Regions from separate parts of the Homo sapiens genome. Here regions 1, 2 and 3 are each linked to region 4. Evidence: promoter capture Hi-C in 16 types of primary human blood cells and fetal thymus (Javierre and others, 2016). All regions are on one chromosome and are shown on one strand. Each heading gives the region's core, a stretch centred on a gene start or on the middle of the fragment in contact. The rest is flanking DNA. Distances are from core to core; before and after follow the strand shown. Region 1 overlaps CFAP99 (cilia and flagella associated protein 99). Region 2 overlaps ZFYVE28 (zinc finger FYVE-type containing 28). Region 3 overlaps RNF4 (ring finger protein 4). Region 4 holds the start of HAUS3 (HAUS augmin like complex subunit 3).

The links. The method cuts DNA at HindIII sites, captures the fragments that hold promoters and counts their contacts. A CHiCAGO score of 5 or more calls a contact.
Region 1: a contact is called between a fragment that was not itself captured here and the fragment with the promoter of HAUS3 in region 4, in 7 of 17 cell types (endothelial precursors, naive CD4 T cells, M2 macrophages and 4 more). The highest score is 8.0, in endothelial precursors.
Region 2: a contact is called between a fragment that was not itself captured here and the fragment with the promoter of HAUS3 in region 4, in 1 of 17 cell types (naive CD8 T cells). The highest score is 5.2, in naive CD8 T cells.
Region 3: a contact is called between a fragment that was not itself captured here and the fragment with the promoter of HAUS3 in region 4, in 3 of 17 cell types (naive CD8 T cells, total CD8 T cells and naive CD4 T cells). The highest score is 6.6, in naive CD8 T cells.

What each region holds. Positions count from the first base shown.
Region 1 is chr4:2,451,291-2,455,240 of GRCh38, reverse strand. CFAP99 (cilia and flagella associated protein 99) reads right to left here. Exons shown (of 16, transcript NM_001193282.4): 10 at 3,889-3,950; 11 at 2,895-3,099. Among named protein-coding and RNA genes, the nearest start is that of RNF4, 16 kb to the left of the region's middle. The HindIII fragment of the contact is 1,576 bases long and covers 1,402-2,977 here.
Region 2 is chr4:2,369,030-2,373,171 of GRCh38, reverse strand. The region is part of intron 1 of ZFYVE28 (zinc finger FYVE-type containing 28); the gene reads left to right. LOC107986249 (a long non-coding RNA gene) reads left to right here. Exons shown (of 2, transcript XR_001741550.2): 2 at 7-4,142. Among named protein-coding and RNA genes, the nearest start is that of ZFYVE28, 48 kb to the left of the region's middle. The HindIII fragment of the contact is 8,792 bases long and covers 1-4,142 here.
Region 3 is chr4:2,486,509-2,491,013 of GRCh38, reverse strand. It overlaps RNF4 (ring finger protein 4), which reads right to left. Exons shown (of 8, transcript NM_002938.5): 2 at 512-677. The coding sequence starts at 520. Among named protein-coding and RNA genes, the nearest start is that of RNF4, 20 kb to the right of the region's middle. RefSeq lists enhancers at 700-1,480, 2,832-2,941, 4,445-4,505. The HindIII fragment of the contact is 3,219 bases long and covers 1,205-4,423 here.
Region 4 is chr4:2,240,559-2,244,775 of GRCh38, reverse strand. HAUS3 (HAUS augmin like complex subunit 3) reads left to right here and starts at 2,655. Exons shown (of 6, transcript NM_001303143.2): 1 at 2,655-2,725; 2 at 2,986-3,256; 3 at 3,683-4,217. The coding sequence starts at 3,830. It overlaps POLN (DNA polymerase nu), which reads left to right and starts at 2,655. Exons shown (of 26, transcript NM_181808.4): 1 at 2,655-2,725; 2 at 2,986-3,256. It also overlaps the pseudogene COX6B1P5. RefSeq lists a silencer at 2,225-2,584 and enhancers at 3,265-3,364, 2,971-3,472. The HindIII fragment of the contact is 3,838 bases long and covers 172-4,009 here.

The DNA.
Region 1 (3,950 bases), core at 940-3,439, 210 kb before region 4:
TATTATAAAGGATTATTTTTCCTAACATATAAAGAACATTAGGCTGGGCGCAGAGGCGCATTTCCGTAATCCCAGTATTTTGGGAGACTGAGGCAGGTGAATCACTTGAGCCCCGGAGTTAGAGACCAGCCTGGGCAACATGGCGAAACTGTGTCTCTCCTAAAAAGGTGGTGCACGCCTGCAGTTTCACCTGCTTGGGAGGCTGAGATGGGAGGATGGTTTGAGCCTGAGAGGCAGAGGTTGCAGTGAGCCAAGATCATGCCACTGCGCTCCAGCCTGGGCGACAGAGTGAGACCCTGTCTCAAAAAAGAAAAACTGTGGCCGGGCATGGTGGCTCACACCTGTAATCCCAGCACTTTGGGAGGCTGAAGTGGGCAGATCACTTGAGGTCAGGAGTTTGAGACCAGCCTGGCCAACATGGTGAAACCTTGTCTCTACTAAAAATACAAAAATTATCCAGACATGGTGGTGTGCATCTGTGGTCCCGGCTACGCAGGAGGCTGAGGCAGGATAACCGCCTGACCCTGGGAGGCAGAGGTTGCACTGAGCTGAGATCAACCCACTGCACTCCAGCCTGGGTGACAGAGTGAGACTCTGTCTCAAAAACAAAAACAAAAACAAAACAAAAACCAAAAAAAAAAAAAAACAAAAAAAAAAAAGAAAAAAAACAACAAAAAAAGAAAAATTGCTAAGAGAGTAGATTGTAAGTGTTCTTACCAGGAATAAGTATGTGAGATAATGCATATGTTAATTAGCTTGATTTAGCCATTCCACAATGTATTTGTATTCCAAAAGATCATGTTAGGCCGGGCGTGGTGGCTTCCACCTGTAATCCCAGCACTTTGGGAGGCTGAGACAGGTGGATCACTTGAGGTCAGGAGTTTGAGACCAGCCTGGCCAACACAGTGAAAACCCATCTCTACTAAAAATACAAAAAGTAGGCCGGGCACGGTGGCTCATGCCTGTAATCCCAGCAATTTGGGAGGCCGAGGTGGGTGGATCACGAGGCCAGGAGTTCAAGACCAGCTTGACCAAGATGGTGAAACCTCATCTCTACTACAAATACAAAAAAAGAAATAGCTGGGCATTGTGGCATGCGCCTATAATACCAGCTATTCAGGAGGCTGAGGCAGAGAATTTCTTAAACCCAGGAGGTGGAGGTTGCAGTGAGCCATGATCATGCCACTGCACTCCAGCCCGGGCGACAGAGCAAGACTCTGTCTCAAAAAGAAAAAAAAACCAAAAACCAAAAAACAAAAATTAGCCATGCATGGTGGTGCTCGCCTGTAGTCCCAGCTACTCAGGAGACTGAGGCAGGAGAATCACTTGAACCCGGGAGGCGGAAGTTGCAGTGAGCTGAGATCACACCACCGCACTCCAGCCTGGGCGACAGAGCAAGCTTCCATCTTAAAAAAAAAAAAAAATCATGTTATATATCACAAATATATTCAATTGCATTTGTCAAGTTAAATAAATAAAGAACCAAAAAAAAAAAAAAAGTCAGGGAAATGAAGGTCAAAAGTGCAATAGAAAATGGACAAAAGACATGGACAGACGGTTCACAGAAATAGACACAAATCATTTATATATGTATATGTGGACATTTGCTCAAATTCACTGATAAATAAATGAGATGCAAATCAGAACTATACCAAGATACTATTTCTGACCCATGAAATTGGCACAAATTCACGAATTCAGCCTGGTACACTCTGTGGCGGGGCATGCGGATCAGACCCCTCTCACACTTTGGTGGAGTGAAGATGGTAAAAGTACCAGGGAGACGATTGGCCATATTTAGTAAAACCACGCGTCCCAAACGGCAAGGACTCCTGCGTATCCAGTTACTCTTTGGTGTGACATCTGGAAATATAACTTCCTCTAGAAGTTTACCCTGAAAATCCAGCTCTGCAAAGGTGAAAGTCTTGCACATTATTCTTTGCAGATAAAGCAAGGTGTGACCTTTTATGTAACAAAAAAGGGAAGGACAAACTATGTATATACAAGTGTGTTATTTGCTTCGAAAGACGGGAAAGGTAATCCAGAAATTAATGAAAGGAAGGACCAACAAAGGAAGGTGGAAATGGGTTGTAAGTTATAGACTTACAAGAGGTGAGACTTCTCTGAGTCTACCTTTTCATATTGTTTAGACTTCATTTTTGTTTGTTTGTTTTGTTTTTGAGACAGTTACGCTCTGTCGCCCAGGATGGAGTGCAGTGGCATGATCACGGCTCACTGCAACCTTGACCTTCCAGGCTCACGTGATCCTCCTACCTCAGCCTCCCGAGTAGGTGGCACTACGGGCACGCACCACCATGCCCGGCTAATTTTTGTATTTTTTACAGAGACGGGATTTTGCTATGTTGCTCAGGCTGATCTTGAACTCCTAGGCTCAAGTGATCTTCTGGCCTTGGCCTCCTAAAGTGCTGGGATTATAGGTGTGAGCCACCATGCCTGGCCTGGCCTTCATATTTTTTTAAAAAAGTAAAAAGGAAAGAAAAGGCAAACCTTAAAATTGAATACAGACACAGATGAAACTATCAAAAGAAGCAATCTGAGTGACCTTTGATCAAGTCCCTGACCGCAGGCCTGCAAAGGGATACGTCCCAGGAGAGAGTATACAGGCCGGCCTCCTGGGGCTGAGGCTCCCCGCTGGTCCAGGCCACTGTGAGGCCCACTGGAAGGAGCAGGCACTCTCGGGGAACACAGGCTGAGCGTGCCCACCTAGGCAGTGTGTCCTTCGAGGAGGAAGAGGAGCCAGGACCAACACATCAGTAGCTTCTACGGGGGCGCTGTGGACACTCAGCTCCACTGCCAGCCCTGGCCCTGCAGCTCCCGGTGGGCACACAGTTCAGCTGGCTGCCCCATGCCCAGCTGCCCTGCATGGCACCCACCTGCTCCTTCTGCTGCTCCACCCTCTGCTTGTTCTCCTGCATGAGGCTCTGCCGGGCTAGGACGGCCTCCTCATGGCTAAGCTTCCCTTGCAACCGCCGGCACTCGCTTGCAGCCAGCTGCTCCTCCCGGTCCTTCGCCTGCATCTTCTTCTGCCACTCGAAGAACTCAGAGAAGTCCCCAGCCCCATCCACGAGCTTATCAACCCTGGGCAAAGAGGGACAGAAGCACAGCTTGGGGTTTCTCCCGTGACAGAGGCTGCTGGGTGGTCACAGGTTTTCCTGAGGGACAGTGGCTGCGCAGGCGTGGGCTGCTACTCCTGACACCCAGCTGCGTGGCCTGCCCTTCCTCCTATCCCCGACCCACTGTCCACCCATCCCCTGGTCCCCCTTTCTGTGCGTCCACCCATCAGCCCCATCCACCCACCCCTCCCTTCATCCACTTGTTTGTCTACCCTCACTCTGTCCAACTGTCTGTCCATCCACCAACCCTGTGTCCATCATCTGTCCATCCATCAACCTTCTGTCCTCTGCTAGCCTGGCCACCCTTGCCCCTGTGCACCATCTGTGCGTCCACTCCACCATCTGGTCAGACACCCATGCTCCCCCCACAGCCTGACTTGCAGACAAGGAAAGACACGACCACACCGCATGGGGTAAGCACAGGGGTTTGCAGCCCTGGTGGTCTAGGAGATGGGGGCATCAGGAAGGGGTCCAGGGAGGAGGTAACCCCAAGGGAGGTTTGGTGTGGGTTGGGCCTTTGCTAAGTCCCTCCAGCCCCATTCATGCCCCTCACTGAGCCGGCATGATCTTTGTAAGATGCACCTGGGACCCTGACACAGTCCTGCTTGTCGCCCCTGTTGCTGCAGGACCACAGCCTGTTGTGACCCCCGAGTCCCTCTCCACTGAGCTGCCCAGCCCCCAGGCCCCTCCTCTGAGCCTTTCCTCTCAAGGGTGATGCCGTGGAAGGCAGGTGGGGGGGCCTGCCGCCCTTCACCTCTGCAGCTCCTGCTCCACCTGCCGCTGGTACAAGGCCCCTTCTCGCAGGATGGCTGTGGT
Region 2 (4,142 bases), core at 1,126-3,625, 130 kb before region 4:
TCACAGGCCCTATCAGACATGGTCACTCTCTAAGAAGGTCTGAGCATAGCTGAAGTGGATCATCTCATTCAACTTTGGGTGACTGGTGAATGCTGTCTGTCTGCCACTGCATTCTTGAGCCTTCTGTCCCTGTGGTGGGGGTGGCTGTGGGGGTAGAGGCTGGCTCAGGCATAGGGTAAGGGTACCCCGAGTGTCTGCCCAGAGACGTGGTGGTCTTCTGGTGGGCATGCGGTGGTTTTTCCCTCCCTAGTCGTCCAAGGTTGGCTGGCAGAGAGGCTGGGGGTGCTAGGAGGGCCCCTGGGTAGGGACTGGGTCCAGGCTGCAGTGAGTCAGCCATGGGGAGAGGCCTCGGGGAGGCTAGGTCTTAGGGGTGTGCAGCATCCTTGGTCCAGGGAGGCAGCTGGCTCTGCCATCATGAGCCCCAACCCTCGGAGTTTAACTGACACAATCAGCGAAGCCCTGGAGTGCCTGCCCCTGCCTCTGCGGAGGGAGTGACAGCCAGTGCCCACCCGTGCCCAGCCGCAGGCCCTCCCTCATCAGGTCCCTTCCCAGAATCCAGGCCCTGTTCAGAACCCCAGCACCCCTGCCTGCCCGCACCTCTGTGTACCCCTCCCACATGATGGGGTGATAGGGCATGGTGCCGTGCTGGAGGGGCTAGGAGGCCTCGATGATGGTGACGTCCAGGCAGAGACCCGAATCGGGTGAGTCAGGTGTTGGGTGAACCTTGAGGCCAAAGACCCAGCACTGGAACCTGCTGGGCATGCTGAGGACTAGAAGGAGGATGGCGGGAGCGGTGGTGGCAGGAGGCGGCGATGGAAGGGCTGGGGAGGCAGCGTAGGGCTGTGAAGACACGCCTCTGTGTTCCTGTGAGGGTGGTGGGACCATTCCTACCCCCTCACGAGTCCTTCTCGGAACCAGACTCAGCCCCGCCACCATCCTTCTAGGATGGAAACCTCTGGTTCTCTGGAAGGTCCTTTGGGTCCTGTTGGTCACGGGAATAGGTAACAGCAAACAAAACATTTGCCCTCCTCCCCGCTCCCCAGTTCTGACAGATGTCCACATGGGCCATGCGCACCAGAACCGGCCACACGCTGCACGCCCCTCCAGGCTTCCACTGGGCTGACCTGAGGCTCGTGCATGGCCTTGCACCCCTGCCAGCCCCCAGCTCCATCACTGTCATAGTTGGGGTCTGTGCCTCTAGGCTGCTCCTGTGTGGCTGTCCAGCCCTGGATCCTGGGGACACACGGCCATCAGCTCACGGCCCTGGAGCCCAACCTTCATCCTGTTGCCGCCGAGGCCGGCTTCTCACGCTGGGTGGGGGGCGGGCTGCCAGCTGTTTGCTGGGTTAGGACTGAACCCGCAGCGTGGCCTTCCCAGGCCAGCCTTAGTGGCCAGACTGTGTCTTTTCCAGTTTGGCTTTAGCCCTTAAAGACACTGAAGAGGTTTAATTATTTGCCTGCTATTGTTGAAGGGAGTCTTTGTACTCTTTTGTTTTCTGTTTTTTGTTTGTTTGTTTGTCTGTTTTTTGCCCTGCCGGGAGCCCCTGTGCCTGAGTTACTTTTCTGCAGATACTATCCTGGCTTTTCTTGAGTGAATACCCGTTTGGCTTTTTCCTGCCATATGTCAAGCCTCTGGAACATCGTCAATATTTTTCCTCTCATAATGCATAAAAATAAAGTACAGGCTCTCACTGGACTATTTTGCAAATAATTTTTATCCTCTGATAAAATGACACATTGGTGAGAGCAGGCGTTCCTTTAGGACAGCTATTTTTAAAGAATGATGGAATCGTCTTAATCATCTGTTAGTGGCGGGCACCTTTATAAGTCAAATGCTTCTAAGTTGTATTTGCATTATTTGATTATTTCAGCAATAACCACAGTACAAAAGAAGAATGTGCCAGGGAGCACGACGCGGGCAACCACACAAATCAGCCCCGCCAGGTGCTGGCTGAGTCCATGTGTCCAGGCGGCTTTGCCCTTTCCTGTGGTCACCCCATCCCCTGTCTGCTTGCTTCCCCACTCAGCCCCCACGTGAGCTCCCCATCTTCTCTCCAGCTCCAAGTCGCCCACCTGCAACTTCTCCTAAGGAGCGGGGCCCGAAACCTAACAACTGGTCAAGAAGAAGAGCCAGACTCGGGCTGCGCCCCACATGCTGCGTCCACGTTCACCCCAGGCCTGGGTCCTCTTCCCTGGGGGTCTTCGTGGTGGACAGTGGGCACCGTGTCTTCTCAGTGGAAGCACCTGGAATGCTGCATTACACAGGAAGATCCGAGACACACGTGACCCACATGGACGTGGCAGGGTTGGGTGCCCATCCCTCCTGAGGGCAGTCAGAGAGGCGCCCAGCATCACAGTGTGGGCAGGAGGGGTGGCCGGCGAGGGATGTGGTGTGCAATCTGGCGCCCCAGACTGGCCCACTGCAGGTGGTCCCATGGCCTTGCCACGTCCGGGGAGCCGAGAGGTGGGGGTGGCAGCAGGCATGGGAGACACCCCTCTCCCGGTACAGTGATGCCCAGGATGGTGGGTGCTCCCTCTGGCCCCATCTCTGCATCTCACTGGTGGGCTCTGGGCCCTGGGCCGGCAGGATTGGGTCCAGGGCTACCTCTGTCCTGCCGGTGTCCCACCTGCACGGGGGGAAGATTTGTCGAAAGAGATCTCCCAGAATGTGGGGTGATGGCTATTCTTAGAGGCACTGGGGGCACTTAGGGAATCCCTACCCCCAAGTGTGAGCTGGGGTGTGGGCCCAGGGCACCCCATCCATGGGCTGGGCAGCTCGGCCAGCTCTGCTGACTCCAGGTGTGTCCAGGGGGCTCAGGCCGAGTGATGGTCAGGGCCGATCCATAGGATAAACGCACTGACATGGGGTTTCTCAGTGCCCCTGATGACACAGGACCAGGCAAATCCCCTTCTCTCCGCTGTGGGACATCAGGTAATCGTGGTGCTGTGGGAGAGGGGCATCTTCATTCTGTATGGCTGCTGTGACCAAGTCGCACACAGTGGGGTGCTTAAAACAACAAAAATCGGCCGGGCGTGTTGGTTCACACCTGTAATCCCAGCACTTCGGAAGGCTAAGGCGGGCGGATCACGAGATCAGGAGATCAAGACCATCCTGGCCAACATGGTGAAACCCGTCTCTATTAAGAGTACAAAAATTAGTCGAGCTTGGTGATGCACTCCTGTAATCCCACCTGCTCGGGAGGCTGAGGCAGGAGAATTGCTTGAACCCGGGAGGCGGAGGTTGCAGTGAGCCGAGATCACGCCACTGCACTCCAGCCTGGTGACAGAGCGAGACTCTGTCTCAAAAAAAAAAAAAAAAAAAGAAAAGAAAAAAAAAAATCCCTTCTTTCAAAGTTCTGGAGACCAGAAGTCTGAGGTCGTGGTGTGGGCAGCACTGGTTTCTTTTGGGGGCTCTGAGGGAGGGTCGCTCCTTGCCTTCTCCAGCTCCCGGTGTTGCCGGCTGTCCTTGGGGTTTCTTACAGGCCCGTCACACCGATCTCCGCCCCATCTTCACATGGCATTCTCCTCTGTGTGCCTTTCACCTTCTCTAAGGCCACCTGTCACTGGGTTTAGGGCCCACCCAGAGAGTCCAGGATGGTCTCAGGTTGAGATTCTTACCTCTCTTTCATCTGCAACAACCGTTTTTCCAAAAACAGTCATATTCACACATTCCAGACATGCTTCAAGGGGACCACCATTTGACCCACTGTGGGTGGGTAGGAACCATGTCTGAGGTCCCAGAGTAGGCTCTGGGGGCACCTTTTCCTTACTCAAGGGCCTCTCTTTATGGCAAATTAGGTCCTAATCACAACAAAGGTGCCACATTGCCCAGTCCACACTTGCCCATGGCTTTGGTGGGGTCCTGTGGCTGTGGCAGGGGGGACCCTTGTCTCACCAGATGGAACAGCCTGGCCTAGATTGCTCTGATGTGAGAAAGCAGATCTGGTCAGTCCACAGAGTGCGGCGTTCCACACCCTTGACTCACAGATGTCACCAGGAGGAAGGATGGCAGGGATGCCCCTCTAAGCACCACCTGCCCTTAGTGTATGGTCTCCAGAGAAGATGTGCAGGTGGTCAGCCAGCAATGAAGGGTGCCCAGTGTCATCAGCCATTGGGAAAATGAGAGTCAAAACCACAGTGAGC
Region 3 (4,505 bases), core at 1,565-4,064, 250 kb before region 4:
TGGGCTCAAGGAATCTTCCTGCCTCAGCCTCCCAAGTAGCTGGGACTACAGGTGCGCCCCACCACGCCTGGCTACATTTTGTTTGTTTGTAGAGATGGGGCCTATGTTGCCCTGGCTGGTCCTAGGCTCAAGTAATCTTTTTACCTTCACGCCTCCAAGTGTTGAGATTACACATGAGCCACCATGCCCAGTCTACAAACAATTTTAAAAAGCAAAAAGTTTTAGTATTTCTATGACACTGACAACTGTTGTGAAGGTCTGAGATTACCAAACCCTAAGCTATTCCTTCTCAGCCTTTTGTCTTCAGGGCTCTGCCCTTTATGACTCGAATGTAGCTCAATGTCGGTAAGTAAGCTGATGTAACCACCAGAAAGCTCCTATACATACTCCTTCAAGAAGTGGGGTTACTTAGAAGTGACATTATGGAACTCACTTTCACTAATGTGCTACAAGGAATAAGGTAGTTAATTAGCCCTACAAAATTAAAAATTCAAGAGATGATAAAACTTACTGTACTCATTGTGCTCTTTGGTGCCTTTCCTTTCCTACAGAAAAGGAAGTGATCTATACCAAGGTTTGCAGGGAAGTCAAATGTTCTCAACCTTTCATGCCCTCTGGTTACTCATCTGGCTTGCAAAATAATTTGGATCCGGACAGATTTCCAGTATTTTCAAGTCCTGAAAAACAAAGATATTAATTTGATAAATACTGCCACTTACATCATTGAAACAAAGCTGAGCTCAATAATGTACTGGTCCTTCCTGTCCCTAGGTTATTTGCTTACTATTTCACGCAATGACATCCTTAATCCTATATTCATCTTAGGAAGTAAGCATTCTTGTCGCATGTAGGACTTCCTGATCCCAAAGCCTGCAATTGTAATTATTATGCCACCTCCTACTCTTCTTCCTGGCTCCTGCCACCTTGGCAAGGTACCGTGCTAACTGCTGGGAGGAGGTGCGAGTCAGGACTGCCACACATGACCACACCAACTCCTCAGGAACCAGAAGGGAAGGGACAGAGCTTCTGAGGCCACAGCTCAGAGCCTCAGGTTCTTCCCACAATTTCACTGTCGCCGTCCGGAGTTGAGAAGACAAGAGCCACTCACTCTAAAGCATGTTGTGTGTCCAGCTGAGACTTCTGTTGCTGGGACCAGGTGAATGGTGAATCGGGAGGCTGTGGACTAGGCAGCCAAGCAGAAGCTTTGAGGAAAGGCAGAGAAATCACCAGATGCAGAGGCTGCGAGGCCCTTGGACTTCACTGAGAAGCGAGGCCGACCACGGTAAACTCAGCGTCAGCGACGCATGGTTAATGGAGCCACAAAGCCCTGAGCACAGGCAAGCCTGAGGGTTGAGAGAGAGCCAAAGCAAGGACAAGACCCTTGTGGCCACCCACTGCTGGGTGCTAGTGGCTTAGATTAGGAGAGTGCTTCTCAAGCATGAGCCTGTATCAGGCTCCCCCACAGAGGGCTCGTTAAGCACAGCCTGCTAGGCCCTCCAATTTACGTATCTAACAAGTTCCCAGGTGCTGCTTCCAGAGACCACACCATGGAACGTACTGAAGTAGCATAACGAGATGGAGTTGCAAAACAGACACAGGTGAGAGGGATCCAGGTGGCGGAAACGACAGGAACGCTCTCACATCCACCCTTCTGTGCATCCCCAGTGCTGTGCCGTGTCATCCTCCTGTGCACCATTACCATGCCTGCTCATGCTGGGTCTCCTGTCCCTGGGTGCCCGTCTACCCTACTGCCAGGCCATCTTTCCGAAACATTTGCCGCAGCAACTTTCCCTGGCTCCTTATCAAGGCCTAACTCCTAAGCATGGTGTGTGGAGCCAGGCTGGCACTGCAATTAGGGCACATCTCTTGAGCCAGGCAACTGAGATTGAAATCCAGGCATCGGCCGGGTGTAGTAGCTCACACCTGTAATCCCAGCACTCTGGGAGGCCAAGGCGGGTGGATCACCTGAGGTCAGGAGTTTGAGACTAGCCTGGCCAATATGGTGAAACCCCGTCTCTACTAGAAAATACAAAAAATTAGCCTGGAGTGGTGGTGGATGCCTGTAATTCCAGCTACTTGGGAGGCTGAGGCAGGAGAATCTCTTGAACCTGGGAGGCAGAGGAGCCGAGATCATGCCATTACACTCCACCCTGGACAACGAGAGCAAAACTCCATCTCAAAAAAATAAATAAATAAATAAAAAATGAAAATAAAATCCAGGCACCTGCAAACCCCAACCTGTGACCTTGGGGCATGGCATTGAACTTCTCTGTGCCCCATTTCCTTATCTATAGAACAGAACTGCACCTACCTTAATGGTGTGTGAGGATTCCAGAAGTTATTACAAGAGAGTGTTTGGAACAGTGCAGGCACACTGGAAAGGCTCAGTGTCTGTGGGCTGACACATACCCATCACCACACTCAGCCCCACAGCACCAGGTTGGCAGTCTCTCCAAATAAACCTTCCCAGTGACCAGCTCCAACCTTCTGCTCAAGCCCTAAAATGCTGTGTGATATCACATCCCACTCAGTTTTTTTTTGTTGTTGTTGTTGTTGTTTTTGAGACGGAGTCTCACTCTGTTGCCCAGACTGGAGTGCAGTGGGCTCACTGCAACCTCCACCTCCCAGGTTCAAGTGATTCTCCTGCCTCAGCCTCCCAGTAGCTGGGACTACAGGCATGTGCCACCACACCAGGCTAATTTTTCTACTTTTAGTAGAGATGGGGTTTCCACCAGGTTGGCCAGGCTGGTCTCGAACTTCTGACCTCAGGTGATCCACTTGCCTCGGCTTCCCAAAGTGCTGGGATTACAGGCATGAGCCACCACGTCTGTCCTCCCACCCAGCTTTAAGAAAGGATGCATACCTCCCCGCCTCATTCACAGTACAGCCCCTGCCCTGGGAATACAGCAATGAGCAAACACAGCCTCTGTGCAGAATCTAGGGCGGGGAGAAGGGTGAGGAGGGTGCTGGCAGGCAGCTATAACGAAGTTAGGAACTAAGTGTGCAAGAAGTACAGGAGGAGAAAGGGAGGCCAGAGTAGGTTTTTCAGGAGATGCCCAAAGGGACCGCCGTCCCAGCTGAGCTGAGCATTTTCTTCAGCACTTGGTCGTCTGGTTCTGAGAAAATGGCATACTGTATCTCACTCCCTGAGCGCCTCATTCTCTAGCTTGACCTCAATGGTTTAGAGGGGAAATCCCCTTCACTGTTTCACTCTAATAAAGGGTGACTTGCATCTCCTTAGGCTGGCCCATACTATGGGACTACGGGTGCTCTCAACAGAATGCACAAATGGGGCAGGCACAGTGGCTCATGCCCTATAACCCCAGCACTTTGGGAAGTTGAAGAGGGAGGATCTCTTGAGCCCAGGAATTGGAAACTAGCTTGGTTAACATGGTGAGATCCTGTCTCTATAAAAAAATTAAAATAATGAGGCTGGGCAGTGGCTCATGCCTGTAATCCCAGCACTCTGGGAGGCTGAGGCAGGCAGATCACTTGAGATCAGGAGTTCAAGACCAGCTTGGCCAACATGGCGAAACCCCGTCTCTACTAAAAATATAAAAATTAGCCGGGTGTGGTGGTGTGCGCCTATAATCCCAGCTACGTAGGAGGCTAAGGCACAAGAATCACTTGAACCCGGGAGGCGGAGGTTGCAATGAGCCAAGATGGCACCACTGCACTCCAGCCTGGCCAACAGAGAGAGACTCTGTCTCAAAAAATAAAAATAAAAACACATTAAAAAAATAGCCAGATGTGACGGTGCACACTTGTAGTCCCAGCTACTCCAGGGGCTGAGACAGGAGGATCACCTGAGCCCAGGAGGTCAAGACTGCAGTGAGCCATGACTGCACCATTGCACTCCAGCCCGGAGCACAAATGCTTCTCAAAGCAACACCTCACCTGGTAAGTGTTCAACTTTAAACAGACATTCAGGGAAGAGGCTCTGGCTAGGAAAAGACTTGTCTAGTTGGTTTCAACAGAGGTGGGAGGTGCCTCGACATCACCTTAGGACTCACAAGATCATTCAGACCACACGACAGTCCCAGATCCACCACATGTCCTGGGTTCTCATATCCACGAATGTTTCTGATCTCAAGAAATATCTTACATTTGGGTGCACATCTATCATATAGGGGCTTGTTCTCCCCGCCACATCAATAGCGTGTCTTAGAATTTAGAAAAGAGAAGCTACTGACAAAGGAAGACAGAGAAATCAGCCTGCAGAGCAAAGGGAAACACCTGATGTCCACACCCAGGCTGTTCCTAAGCCTCTCTCCTCCCACTTCACTGATATTGAGGCTTCCAAATACGGCTGCTGAAGATGTGCCTTGTGGCTGTCCTGGCCTGCACACCCCTCACCACTCTGAAACCAGCCTCCTGCATCCCTGCAGGCCCAGCTAGACCATTACTACTTCCCTGGGAAGCTTTCTGGAGCCCCCTCATTCTCCATGCCCTGGCCCATACAGCAATTCACCCCAAATCTGGTTTTTCTCTCTCTTTTGGGTTTA
Region 4 (4,217 bases), core at 1,406-3,905:
GAAGGAGAAAAAGCAAACAGCAAAAACACTTGATCCTCACAGCTCTGTCTTTAGGTCTGTTTAGTCCATTATATTCTCATGGGCTTTTTCAGGGAGGATTAATTCCTGGGTTCCATTTATCTTTTGACCTTACTAAAACTCCAAATAATTTTGACTGCTGAAAAGAAAGCTTACCCTGGAAATACACGTAACATACTTGCTTTCTTAAATTCCCAAGGCAAGCTGAAGAAAACTTTCCACATCTGTATAGTTAAACCTATTGTGTTTGTCATTTGTACTCCAGGGGCTGATACTGTTGTAATTTTTACTTAATGGTTTTATGGCTTTTATGGTCTCATAAACACCTTTCCAACAAATAACTATGGTCAGCAATTCAAAATCAGATGGAGAATTAATTTGTGGCCCAAGAAACCACCCAGGAGTCACTAGGAAAGTGGGTTTCTAGAACGGCCTCCAGGGCTCTGGAGTGCACCCCTCCTGCCCTCCAGGGATCTCTTTCTATAAAGGAGCCCCTTGTCTTTCTGCCGTCTTTAATGCTGTCTCCTCAGAGTTCCTCCTTGCAGTCTATAAATATCCCCGAGTTCCTCTCATTTTCAAACAAAACAAAATAAAAAATCCTCCCCTCAGCCCTGCATTCCCACCCCCTCAGCTTGTGTTGTTTTGCATGCTCGCTCTCTGTCTTTCTCCTCTCTCTCTCTCTCTGTGTCTCTGTCTGTCTCTGTCTCTCTGTCTGTCTCTGTCTCTATCTGTCTCTCTGTGTCTCTGTCTCTCTGTCTCTGTCTCTGTGTCTCTGTCTCTCTGTCTCTGTCTCTCTGTGTCTCTCTGTCTCTGTCTCTGTCTCTCTGTCTCTGTCTCTCTGTTTCTGTCTCTCTCTGTCTCTCTGTATCTCTCTCTCTGTGTCACACTCCTCCCACCCAGTCTTTGCCTCATCAGCAACATTTCTGGAAGGCATTGCCTGCACAGCTCCCACTTCCTCCTGTCCAAACTGGCTCAACTCTGCCCCCTGATGCACACCCCCAACCTCCAACCCTGGGCTGCAAGGGTCCTCCCACCAGGCCTCCCCGTTCCAGCATCCCTGGTTTCCTTGCCTGCAGATTGGGCACCACTCTTTGAATTTTTTCCCATCATGTTTGTTTTTCAGATCATTTTAGGCCTTATTGACTTTTAAAAGAGGAGGAAAAAAACGTGAAACAAGTGAAGAATGAATAGGAAATATCTTTGACTCGATCAGATTACAATATTTGCCTTAGAACATTCTTATTTCTCTCCTTAAAAATATTAAGAAAAACTATCCAAACGACTTCTACCTAGTCACCCTGGACTAGGACATTGTCTAACAAGCCACCTTTAGGGTCATTTGACGCTGAAGGGAGGGAGTACTATTATATTTACCCATGACCAAAGCCCCTGCTAACCTGTGGAAGACTGAGGAGTGGCAAAGGATTTTTGTTTGGTAGAGATGCAAACGAATTCTGTCCAATAGAGAGGTCTGGTTTCACTGGGCTGTAGGGCATCAGCCAGATTCACATGAAATTTAGCAATCCCGTTTCAGTCATCTTTCACTGACTGCCATCCTCTTTGGAAATGGTGTACCATCCTCCTTGAGTTAAATATATCGATGTATTTAACTCAGGCCATTCCGTTTATTTCTAACATTTTGAAAAGGGAATTGTGGAGGAAGTCAGCTTTTTTTTTTTTTTTTTTTTTGAGACGGAGTCTTGCTCTGTCGCCCAGGCTAGAGTGCAGTGGCGTGATCTCGGCTCACTGCAACCTCCACCTCCTGGGTTCAAACGATTCTCCTGCCTCAGCCTCCCGAGTCGCTGGGATTACAGGCGCCCACCACCGCGCCCGGCTAATTTTTGTATTTTTTAGTAGAGATGGGGTTTCACCATCTTGGCCAGGCTGGTCTCGAACTCCTGACCTCATGATCCCCCCCCCCCCCCCCCCCGGCCTCCCAAAGTGCTGGGATTACAGGCATGAGCCACCGCGCCCGGCCAGAAGTCAGCTTTTACATAGTGTTCTGGTGAGGGATTAGAAATTAAGTGTTTTTGCAAAATAAAGTTCATTGTAAAAGACTCTAAGCGAACAATCCCTAACCCTTAAAATGTACCAGGCATTGGTCGGGCTGCTGTGAATGTTCCGGGAACTCGTCTCTCTCGGGGGCGAGCGCTATCACCGCCGGGCTCCAGCCTGTCTCCCAACCACCAACCTGCGCTGCTCTTTGTACCATTCAAAAGTGCCTTCAGAGGGTCTAGATTGAAGTACGGGGCAGGGCAGGCCTGAAGCACAACTGACGGCTCCGTTGAGAGCAGGCCCGCAGCTTCAGCTCCCCAGAGGGCGCCCCACCGCACCCCTCTGCACCCCTCTGCACCCCATTCATTGCCCAGGCTCCGCCCCCTGCCCAGGCCCCGCCCCTGTCCAGGCCCTGTCCCCGCCCTTCCCGGCCCAGACCCCGCCTCTCTCTGCCCTGCGCCCCGCCCAGGAGGCAGGATGCCCGCAGCGGCCGGGGGCCGAGCGCCGCCTGCTCAGCTCCACCCCATAGTCCAGCCTCGCCGACTCCGCCTCTTTTGACACTACGCCTGCGCAAACAGTCATCCCCCACGACCACGCCGTCGCCTTGTGCGCTTGCGCGCGTCCAGGCGCTCCCGTGAGGCAGTGCGAGGCGCGCGGGGCACGGAGGGCGGTGGCGGCGGGCTCCTGCGAGAAGCAAGCGGAACTTCCTGAGGTGACTGACGCGGGCCTCGGTTCTGGGCGCAGGGGTGTGGGGCTGGAGGAGTGGCCGCGATCCCCGTCTGCACCCAGGTGCCTCTTTTTTTTCCTGCGCTCCTGGGGGCTCCTTCCAGGTGCTCCAGCAGCTGCCCGGGGATCAGGGCCCGGTCCGCTGGGCGAGGAGCTGGGGCGGGGGCTGTGCGGGGCCTGTCACCCCCGTCTTCTGCAGCTCGGTGTCGACGGCGATTCGGTGGGCTTGTGCGTTTGTTTTGTCAGCGTGCTTAGGTGTCACAGCTGGGTGACCCTCCGAAGGAAGGTTTTGCCGCTGGCGCGTCTGGTGTATCGCGGCCTTGGGGCCGCGGATCCCTGGGGCTTGCCGCTGCCTCTGGGGTTCGCGCGGCCCTGGCGTCGGGGCTGCCTCAGCGCTGGCTGAAGGCCGGCCCGAAGCACCCTTAATTGTGGCCGCGCGCTTCCCTGCTGCTCCTGCTGTTCTCCGCGTCGCGGTGGTGGACTCTGGAGGTGGAGCCTTGCCCGGCGAGACGTTGAGGTAAATATTTAGTTGATCTTCAGAAGATGTGCCATGCTTATTTGCGTCTTCTTACGTACGGAGGGCAGGGAAGAGAGGCTGCCTAGCCTCCTGGTGGCTTGGGTTTGTTTGGATCCATTTATTTTGAATTAAAAACAAATGCTGCTCTATAAAGTGTAATGCATTTTAAACCATTTTATCTTTGGAAAAAAAGATAAAATGGATCCAAATAGATCCACTTTCTTGTTAATTACTTTTCGTTACTGTTGCGGTTTTCTGAGAACTAGCCTAATTGTTTCTGTTTCTCTTTATCATCATCAAACATTGCAGCTACGACTACCTGTCATTTATCCCGCTCTCGGATATCATGTGATATTTGTCTGTGTCTTCTTTTTAAAAACACTGTCGTCATATTTGTGGTCTAATACTTGTTTTCTTCCCCCCTAGGAGGAATCATTATAGATTCTAAAAATATATTTTCCCTTCTCTGTGGACTTGGTATAAAACGTAGCTTTTTTTCTGCTTGGATTTATTTTCTAAAAATCAACACCGTAAACCCATATCAGATACAACAAAATTGGGGTAGTTAAAACCATGAGTTGTGGAAATGAGTTTGTGGAAACATTAAAAAAAATTGGTTATCCCAAAGCTGATAATCTTAATGGAGAAGACTTTGACTGGTTGTTTGAGGGCGTTGAAGATGAATCGTTTCTGAAGTGGTTTTGTGGGAATGTGAATGAACAGAACGTGTTGTCTGAAAGAGAATTGGAAGCTTTTAGCATTCTTCAGAAATCAGGCAAGCCTATTCTAGAAGGGGCGGCATTGGATGAAGCTCTTAAAACGTGTAAAACTTCTGATTTGAAGACACCTAGACTGGATGATAAAGAGCTGGAGAAATTAGAGGATGAGGTTCAAACTCTACTGAAATTAAAGAACCTAAAAATTCAGCGACGTAATAAATGTCAATTGATGGCTTCAGTAA